Linked DNA regions of Homo sapiens: region 2 is linked to region 1. Evidence: promoter capture Hi-C in human tissues and cell types (Jung and others, 2019). All regions are on one chromosome and are shown on one strand. Each heading gives the region's core, a stretch centred on a gene start or on the middle of the fragment in contact. The rest is flanking DNA. Distances are from core to core; before and after follow the strand shown.

Region 1 (5,021 bases), core at 1,339-3,838:
AGATTTGAGAGTAGATAAAAAGCAGAGACTACTACTGAAGAACAGGGCTGCTTTGGCTCCTTATTATTTCAGACTTTGGAAGAAAATGACCTCCTTTTTCTCTACTGGCACTGGAGGTGGCATAGCCTGTCCCTAGCAAGCCAGCGCTGGAGGGCGTGTGCAGGGCTGGGGACCGAGCCTGGTTTCTGTTCCCTGCTCTGCAGGGCTCAAGCACTTGCTGTTCCTCCACCTGGGATGCCTTTCCCTGGAAAAGCCTGTCTCTTTCTTGTCTTTCAGGACTCAGGTCAGTGGCATCTCCTCCAAAAACTCCCCTTCCCACCCTCCATCACCTCACCCTGTTTATCTGCGCCCCCGCCCCCACTGCCTGTCACTTATTGCAGGCTGAAGTGACCCAGGCTCTCCAGTTGTACACTCTCAGATGGACCCTGGACGACTGTGGCACTCCTGCAATTTCCCCAGTCTCCCTGGGGTAGGATTCCTGCTTGCCAGGATGCCCACCTTTCCTTCTCCCTCCTGCATGTCCTCCTCTGCCTGGCTTCTGAATTGTTTCCAGAGAGAGTGATAGACAAGATCTGCCTCTCCTTCAGTCCCTGAATCTTATTTAAGGCTCTTGCTTTGCTTCCCTGGCCTGGAGGCCGGCTCCTTGATGGAGTCTGCCATGTGGGTTCGCTCATGGCCATGTCTTCCTGCCCAGCATGGTGCTTGGCCCTGGGACTGGCCACATAATATCTGGGCCAGGTGCAAAATTAGTACGGGGCAGGGGGTACTTTGTTCATAGGTGATTCAGAACCACATATGGTGACCTCAGAGTAGGAAACCAAGTGTGGGGCCCTTAAGAGCTGGGGGGCCCTGTACGACTGTCCAGGTTGCAGGCCCCACAGCTCGCCTCCTGATATCCTGTGCTCCATGCTTGTCTGTTGAAGGAAGGAGTGAATGGATGAAGAGCAGGTGGTGGGGGTGGTTTGAGGGCCTTGCCTGGTGGGTGGGTAGAGGCCCCTCCCTGGCATGGGGCTCAAGACCTGTTCCATCCCACAGCCTGGGGCCTGTGTGTAAATGGCCAGGACCTGCAGGCTGGCATTTTTCTGCTCCTTGCCTGGCCTCTGGCCTCCCCTTTCTCCACCCATGTGGCCCCTCAGGCTGCCATCTAGTCCAAAAGTCCCCAAGGGAGACCCAGAGGGCCACTTGGCCAAACTACTTCTGCTCCAGAAAACTGTAGAAGACCATAATTCTCTTCCCCAGCTCTCCTGCTCCAGGAAGGACAGCCCCAAAGTGAGGCTTAGCCAGAGCCCCTCCCAGACAAGCGCCCCCGCTTCCCCAACCTCAGCCCTTCCCAGTTCATCCCAAAGGCCCTCTGGGGACCCACTCTCTCACCCAGCCCCAGGAGGGGAAGGAGACAGGATGAACTTTTACCCCGCTGCCCTCACTGCCACTCTGGGTGCAGTAATTCCCTTGAGATCCCACACCGGCAGAGGGACCGGTGGGTTCTGAGTGGTCTGGGGACTCCCTGTGACAGCGTGCATGGCTCGGTATTGATTGAGGGATGAATGGATGAGGAGAGACAGGAGAGGAGGCCGATGGGGAGGTCTCAGGCACAGACCCTTGGAGGGGAAGAGGATGTGAAGACCAGCGGCTGGCTCCCCAGGCACTGCCACGAGGAGGGCTGATGGGAAGCCCTAGTGGTGGGGCTGGGGTGTCTGGTCTCAGGCTGAGGGGTGGCTGGAAAGATACAGGGCCCCGAAGAGGAGGAGGTGGGAAGAACCCCCCCAGCTCACACGCAGTTCACTTATTCACTCAACAAATCGTGACTGCGCAGCTACAGTGGCTACCAGGCGCTGGGTTCAAGGCACTGCGGGTACCAGAGGTGCGGAGAAGATCGCTGATCCGGGCCCCAGTGCTCTGGGTGTCTAGCGGGGGTAAGAAGGCAATAAAGAAGGCACGGAGTAACTCAAACAGCAATTCCAGACAGCAAGAGAAACTACAGGAAAGAAAACAAACGTGCGAGGGGCGAGGCGAGGAAACAACCTCAGCTTGGCAGGTCTTGGAGGTCTCTGGGAGGAGAAAGCAGCGTCTGATGGGGGCGGGAGGTGGTGAGTGGGGAGAGGTCCAGGCGGAGGGAATGGCGAGCGCAGAGACAGGCTGGCAACGGCTTCAGGGAGGCGCGGAGGGGTCAGCGTGGCTGGCTTAAAAGGATACAGGGACTGAGGGGCAAGACCGGCTCAAGGGTCACCGCTTCCAGGAAGCCTTCTATTTCCGCGCCACCTCCGCGCTCCCCCAACTTTTCCCACCGCGGTCCGCAGCCCACCCGTCCTGCTCGGGCCGCCTTCCTGGTCCGGACCGCGAGTGCCGAGAGGGCAGGGCCGGCTCCGATTCCTCCAGCCGCATCCCCGCGACGTCCCGCCAGGCTCTAGGCACCCCGTGGGCACTCAGTAAACATTTGTCGAGCGCTCTAGAGGGAATGAATGAACCCACTGGGCACAGCTGGGGGGAGGGCGGGGCCGAGGGCAGGTGGGAGGCCGCCGGCGCGGGAGGGGCCCCTCGAAGCCCGTCCTCCTCCTCCTCCTCCTCCGCCCAGGCCCCAGCGCGTACCACTCTGGCGCTCCCGAGGCGGCCTCTTGTGCGATCCAGGGCGCACAAGGCTGGGAGAGCGCCCCGGGGCCCCTGCTATCCGCGCCGGAGGTTGGAAGAGGGTGGGTTGCCGCCGCCCGAGGGCGAGAGCGCCAGAGGAGCGGGAAGAAGGAGCGCTCGCCCGCCCGCCTGCCTCCTCGCTGCCTCCCCGGCGTTGGCTCTCTGGACTCCTAGGCTTGCTGGCTGCTCCTCCCACCCGCGCCCGCCTCCTCACTCGCCTTTTCGTTCGCCGGGGCTGCTTTCCAAGCCCTGCGGTGCGCCCGGGCGAGTGCGGGGCGAGGGGCCCGGGGCCAGCACCGAGCAGGGGGCGGGGGTCCGGGCAGAGCGCGGCCGGCCGGGGAGGGGCCATGTCTGGCGCGGGCGCAGCGGGGCCCGTCTGCAGCAAGTGACCGAGCGGCGCGGACGGCCGCCTGCCCCCTCTGCCACCTGGGGCGGTGCGGGCCCGGAGCCCGGAGCCCGGGTAGCGCGTAGAGCCGGCGCGATGCACGTGCGCTCACTGCGAGCTGCGGCGCCGCACAGCTTCGTGGCGCTCTGGGCACCCCTGTTCCTGCTGCGCTCCGCCCTGGCCGACTTCAGCCTGGACAACGAGGTGCACTCGAGCTTCATCCACCGGCGCCTCCGCAGCCAGGAGCGGCGGGAGATGCAGCGCGAGATCCTCTCCATTTTGGGCTTGCCCCACCGCCCGCGCCCGCACCTCCAGGGCAAGCACAACTCGGCACCCATGTTCATGCTGGACCTGTACAACGCCATGGCGGTGGAGGAGGGCGGCGGGCCCGGCGGCCAGGGCTTCTCCTACCCCTACAAGGCCGTCTTCAGTACCCAGGGCCCCCCTCTGGCCAGCCTGCAAGATAGCCATTTCCTCACCGACGCCGACATGGTCATGAGCTTCGTCAACCTCGGTGAGTAAGGGCAGGCGAGGGTACGCGTCTCCTTTCGGGGGCACTTTGAGACTGGGAGGGAGGGAGCCGCTTCTTCTATGCAGCCCGCCCAGCTTTCCGCTCCTGGCTGAAATCGCAGTGCCTGCCCGAGGGTCTCCCACCCACAGCCCTATGACTCCCAAGCTGTGTGCGCCCCCAGGTCGGGCGCGCTGGGTTCGGTGAGCCTGTAGGGGTTACTGGGAAGGAGGGATCCTCCGAAGTCCCCTCCATGTTACGCCGCCGGCCGCATCTCTGGGGCTGGAGGCAAGGGCCGTTCAAAGCGCGGGGCTCGGTCATGTGAGCTGTCCCGGGCCGGCGCGGCTCGCGCTACCTGGATGTAAAGGGCCCTTCCCGGCGAGGCTGCCTTGCCGCCCTTCCTGGGCCCCTCTCAGCCCTGCCTGGCTCTGGCATCGCGGCCGTCGCACCCCCTTACCCTCCCTGTCAAGCCCTACCTGTCCCCTCGTGGTGCGCCCGCCTTAGCGTACCGCGCGCTCCGAGCGCCTTGGGGCCCCTCTCCGGGCCGCCGGATGCCCCATTCTCTCTTGGCTGGAGCTGGGGAAGAAACGGTGCCATTGCTAATTTTCTTTGTTTTCTTTCTTTGTTTATTTTTTTCTTTTTTCTTTTTTTTTCTTTTCTTTTCTTTTTTTTTTTTTTTGAGACGGAGTTTCACTCTTGTCGCCCAGTCTGGAGTGCAATGGCGCGATCTCTGCTCACCGCAACCTCTGCCTCCCGGGTTCAAGCGATTCTCGTGCCTCAGCCTCCCGAGTAGCTGGGATTACAGGCATGCGCCACCATGCCTGGCTAATTTTGTATTTTTAGTAGAGACAGGGTTTCTCCATGTTAGGCAGGCTGGTCTCGAACTCCCGATCTCAGGTGATCCTCCCGCCTCAGCCTCCCAAAGTGGTGCTGGGATTACAGGCGTGAGCCACTGTGCCCTGCCGCTAGTCTTCTATTTTAAGTATTTAGTGGTAGGTCCCGGGCCGGCAGAATCTATTTTCAGCATTTACCACGTGTGGCGCGCAAACCACAGGTTTTGGCGATTGGGTTGCGCGGGATCTCAGAGCTGACGCCGCGGGGGCGGCTGGGGGTCCCGGTTTCCGACTGGAGCCGCGACGACCCCGGCGACGCGAGCCTGGGGCTGCAGCGAGGGCCGGGGAGCTCCCCCTCCATATGTGCGCGCACATTCTCCAGACTTGCTCAAACTAACCCCCCGGCAGCGCCAGCGCGCTGCGGGACTGATGATCAAATATTTGGTTTCCGAGATAACACACCCCGATAGCGCTGTTTCCTGAGCCGCTTTCATTCTACTTGTGTAACTTGCTGCGAAAACCCGAACCAAGTCAAGACAGCAAACTCACGCCCACGGGCGCTGTGTCAACATGGAAATAATGATACTGAAGCCCCACGCTGGGCACCTGGGGCGTGGACTGGGGGCGCGGGGGAAGCGCAGATCCGCCTTCATGCTTCCCCCTCCTGATA
Region 2 (5,021 bases), core at 1,400-3,899, 630 kb after region 1:
AGAAACAGACCAGTCATCCCTTTTCTAACCCACAACTTAAATTGTGCACACATGGAAGGTAAGACAACCAAGAACTGCTATTGAAAACACTCTCTCTGCCCTTTCAGGAAATCTATAGGTGCCCCTATCTGCAGGGCCCGGGGCACCTTCCAAGTGCCAGGTACCCAGATGGCCAAAGTACCCAGTCAACAGATGGGCAATCCCGCCGACAGTCTCTCTCACATAAGTGGAATTCTAGGCAGTATATACCCTTCAGACAACTGATGGGGTTTCTTTCAGTGCAACCAGGGAAAAAAAGGAAGCGTATCTTTATTTCTTCTGTCAGAGGGCCAAGACATCAGTGATATCATGTGCCTCCACAGCCAGTGTGCCACAACAGCACAGGGCAAGGGGAAAAGGGAGGGTGATTCCCACTAACATGGGGCTTGAAACAAAACCCACTCTGGGCCACGAGAAGCGAGGGTCCACCAACCTAATGCCAAAGGGCACTGCACCCTTATTTCACAAGTAAGCAAGAGTTTCCAGAAAAATCTGCAAGGGAGGGCTGGGCGCGGTGGCTCACGCCCGGAATCCCAGTACTTTGGGAGGCCGAGGCAGGTGGATCACGAGGTCAGGAGGTCGAGACCATCCTGGCTAACATGGTGAAACCCCGCCTCTACTAAAAAATACAAAAAAATCAGCTGGGCGTGGTGGCGGGCGACTGTAGTCCCAGCTAGTCGGGAGGCTGAGGCAGGAGAATGGTGTGAACCGAGGAGGCGGAGCTTGTAGTGAGCTGAGATCATGCCATTGCACTCCAGCCTGGGCAACAGAGCGAGACTCCATCTCAAAAAAAAAAAAAAAAAAAAATCTGCAAGGGAGCTAATGTTTCAGTAGGATCCTCTTGAGGGGACCTGGTTTTTGGCTACAGCATCAGCTCAGGTGTTGGGAAGAAAAACTCATTATCGTGCATCAGACTCAAGAGCTCAGTGGCAGTCCCCAGACTTCCAGTGGGGATGTGGAGAAAGAACCCGGCAAGTAAGAAGCACTGCTTGGGCGGGCGTGGTGGCTCACGCCTGTAATCCCAGCACTTTGGGAGGCTGAGGCAGGTGGATCATGAGGTCAGGAGATCAAGACCATCCTGGCTAACAGGGTGAAACCCTGTCTCCACTAAAAATACAAAAAAAATTAGCCGGGTGTGGTGGCGGGTGCCTGCAGTCCCAGCTACTCAAGAGGCTGAGGCAGGAGAATGGCATGAACCCGGGAGGCGGAGCTTGCAGTGAGCCGAGATCGAGCCACTGTACTCCAGCCTGGGCAACAGAGTGAGACTCCATCTCAAAAAAAAAATAAAAAAGAAGCACTGCTTGTGATTCCCTTCAATCCTTGGTTGACTTTGGGGCGTTTCCAGAACACTGACTGCGTTGCAATTCAGCACAGCTCCTAAAAGCCAGACTCTGGTCCAAAAGCAAGTTAAGATGCTGATAACAGAATAGCCCTTTTTCTTTCAGCCCTTTGCCCCCATAACTTCCTCTTAACACTCAACATTTCAAGCCTTGATTGAGAGATAACTGCCAACCTAAGATCTCTTTTCACCACTCCAAAGCAAAGCAATTGTGATCTTGTCATATCAACCAGATAAATCCAACTTAATGGGAATGCTTGGTGGCCAAGGACAAGATGCCAAGAGCAAAGCACTGGGTTGGCAGAGTTTAAGTTACTTAATAACATCCAACGCCAACATTAAGTCAGGAATCGTTGGGCATTTGGTAGAGAATTATGAATTAAAGATTATAAAACTGGCATTGAAGCAATGGTCTTATCCAATGGGGAAAATCCTACGGCTCCCAGTTCCCTTTGAAGCCAGGCCACACATGGCAAACTCTAAACACATCACTTCCTGGAGGAGATGCCAGGCTGCTTCAACTCGAGATCAAGTACCTGCCGTGTGCATCACAAACATCCAGCAAGTACATAACCCCTGCCAGACTCCTCTGCTCCTGGAGTAGCACAAAGACTCAATCTCTGGTTTCCCCTGCAGGCAGATGAAATGAAGAGGATGTCTTGGGTGGATGAGCACGATCTCATTTCCAAAGAGAACTTAGATGAATGGAAAACACTGGCATGCTGCACGTCCACTGCTTGCATTCGACTGAATGCCAAGTCCTCCTAAGAAACACCTGCCCAGCCTGGCGCGGTGGCTCACGCCTGTAATCCCAGCACTTTGGGAGGCCAAGTCGAGCAGATCACCTGAGGTCAGGAGTTCGAGACCAGCCTGGCCAACATGGTGAAACCCTGTCTCTACTTAAAATACAAAAATTAGCCAGGTGTGGTGGTACGCACCTGTAATCCCAGCTACTCAGGAGGCTGAGGCAGGAGAATCGCTTGAACCCGGGAGGTGGAGGTTGCAGTGAGCCGAGATTACACCATTGCACTCCAGCCTGGGGCCAAGAGCGAGACTTCATCTTAAAAAAAGAAAAAAAAAAAAAAGAGAGAAACATCTGCCCAAAGAACACCCATAATCATTTCACTTCCATTCTTGACCACTATACAGTATGCTGAGTACAGTATGCCAGTGTACCTGTCCTCAATACAGTAACCTTCCATGAGACATTGTTCCCAAAACATTGGCCCCTCTTAATGTCAATAAACTGTCCCTCAGACATTTCCCAACACCTCCAGGGTGGGGAGGATGATTCTATCCCTCTGCAGTTGAGAGACACTGATGACAGCATAAGGCCTGGGGTAGCTGAACAGTGTCGCTAGGGAGAAAAGGTGAAACTTCAGGTTCCTCCCCAACAGCACACAAAACTTGCCTGCTCAGGGCATTAACCAAGCCACAGTCAAGCCATAAATCAGCTCTGCCCTAATTCCATTCACCCAAAAGACTTTAAAACAAAAGCAAAAACAAAAACCTATAGCCAGACTTTCAGATTCTAACAAGAATACTTTTATTATACACGTATCATACACACAACAATTATTTGGGGAACATTTACAGGCAGAGAGTTCAATTCCAAATCTCCATTTCACCCACACACACTGTACTGCACACTCACCTTAGGGTTCAGCCCAACAGGAACGAGACAAAGTTATTGCTTTCTGAACAGAGAGTTTCAATTAAATAGAATCTTCCAAGCCAAGAACAGAGCCCAGCATCCTCTTAATTCTTAATACCCTGTATATATATGAATAAAACCTTATGATGTGTTATAGATTACCCCATCACCATTAAAAGTTAATATTAAAATTGGATCCCATGTCTCAAAAAAGTCGTAAGAAGTGCACCAGTATTTACAGACCCCATTAAATTACGCATAAATAAAATCTGTACACTCAACGCACTGTTTCTTAAAATACAGAACCTCCACGGGGACTTGGGGGTGACAAGCAGCAACAAATTGCTTCGTGCCTACCCTTTTCAAGTTTACTCGAAACATCTGAAATAAATATGCAAATAAAGCTTCAGTACCTTAAAGGAACATGTCATTTCAAAGAGTCTCCCATTTGAAGAGTTAACTTTCAAAGTTAAAAAAAAAAAAAAAAAAAAAGGAGAAAAAAATCAATCAGCAGGCTTCGTTTCTACAAGTTTCCTAAAACCAGAAGGCCCCCGTTTGAACACGGGGTTTAGAGTGTGTCAGATACCACTTATTAACTAGTTGCTAAGCAGATAGAACCTTTGCCTCCTACCAGAGGACTTGATCTCTGAAGAAGCTAGATACACACTTTTCTTTTTTTCAAGGTAAATATTTAGCGGACACAAAAACCAACCATTACCTTAACACTGAAAAAAAAGGTATTGTTGATCTGTTGATCTAGGGCACATCAATTTGACATTTCAATGGCTAAGTGTGTGGGTCTGTTGGCCCAGGGAATGTATTTAAAAGATTCTAAAACTTATAGCACCACTTTCAGAGAAGGAAAGAATGGGGTTCAAAAAAAAAAAGCTTAATGAATAAAGAGCCAGTACTTGTCACCTTCTGATAATAGGTCCAAAGTTAGGAGATAGCTCAGCGCTAGAGAAACAACTAAGAAGTCCAGGGGCGGGTGATGCAGAACCAGTGAAGGCTCTTTAAATAGTAAGGTAGGTAACAAACTCTTCCCCCAGGCCAGGAGGGGTTCCCAGTCTGTGCGGTGGAGAAGGATTTTTGCAGTCCTGTTCCTTCCCTACTCTCCTAACCTTTCTTCGTTCCAATTTTATTTCCTGTGTTTCTCCATTTTCTCCAGGGTTTTGTTAGAATCAGCTGGACTCTGGTCTCCAGGGTTCATGTAGGATTTGTCTATGACAATCAGGGCTTCTTTGATGTAGTTCTGCAGGGCAGACACCGCGGCACAGATGGCCTGGCTGCCAAACCCGTGGGTAATCAGGCTGAAATGAGACAAGCAGTTCTGTATGTTCGTCTCCAAGACTGGGGCGAGCCTGCTGGTCCCATGGGGTGTCCGGTCTTGGCTGAGAAGTTCTGTGAATTCTTTACACAGTTGCCTGTGAAGACAGTCAGTTGACTCGATGAGTTCCATCTAGCTCCTTACAGGTCAAGAGCACAGAACCAACTACACTGAGGCTGGCGCCCGGGAGGCAAGCACAACTGCTTCAACCCGAGGAAGGAGAATTTAATACTAATAGCCAACTGCTGCGCTTAGCAACTATTCTGCGCCAGGCTCTGAGTTAAGCTGTTTTAAAGCACTATCTTATTTAATCCTCACTGCAATTAGAAAAGACAACAGGATTAACTTAACCCCAGCTAACTGGCCAAGGTCACCAGGACTGGTAAAAGTAATGGGGCCTGGATTCCAACCCATGAGCTTAAGGGACAGTTTACCTTGGTACAAGTTGGTTCCAATAAACAAATTCCGTGAGGAACCGGGAGAAGGAAGCATCCCCCTGAAATTCTGACTCCTGACACAGCCTGGTTCACTGCGCTCTCTTTTACCCCATTTCCTGGCTCGACTAGTTCTGCTTCATTTACCATCATTTTCAAATCAACTTACTGTTGGTTTCTATGAGAAAACCCACAGCTGCATTAAGTCGTTTTGGAGACAGTTAATTT

Evidence for each region. The method cuts DNA at HindIII sites, captures the fragments that hold promoters and counts their contacts. A contact is called where the count stands out against the background at its distance.
Region 2: a fragment that was not itself captured here is called in contact with the fragment with the promoter of BMP7 in region 1 in 1 of the 25 tissues and cell types used here (aorta).

The regions. Positions count from the first base shown.
Region 1 is chr20:57,264,208-57,269,228 of GRCh38, reverse strand. BMP7 (bone morphogenetic protein 7) reads left to right here and starts at 2,588. Exons shown (of 7, transcript NM_001719.3): 1 at 2,588-3,524. The coding sequence starts at 3,107. It overlaps LOC112268270 (translation initiation factor IF-2-like), which reads right to left and starts at 2,789. Exons shown (of 2, transcript NR_171651.1): 1 at 2,587-2,789; 2 at 1,942-2,446. RefSeq lists a cis regulatory region at 2,389-2,481, a promoter at 1-3,100 and an enhancer at 4,209-4,924. The HindIII fragment of the contact is 13,311 bases long and covers 1-5,021 here.
Region 2 is chr20:56,637,163-56,642,183 of GRCh38, reverse strand. TFAP2C (transcription factor AP-2 gamma) reads right to left here. Exons shown (of 7, transcript NM_003222.4): 7 at 2,901-4,456. The coding sequence ends at 4,171. Among named protein-coding and RNA genes, the nearest start is that of TFAP2C, 10 kb to the right of the region's middle. RefSeq lists an enhancer at 4,626-5,021. The HindIII fragment of the contact is 7,963 bases long and covers 1-5,021 here.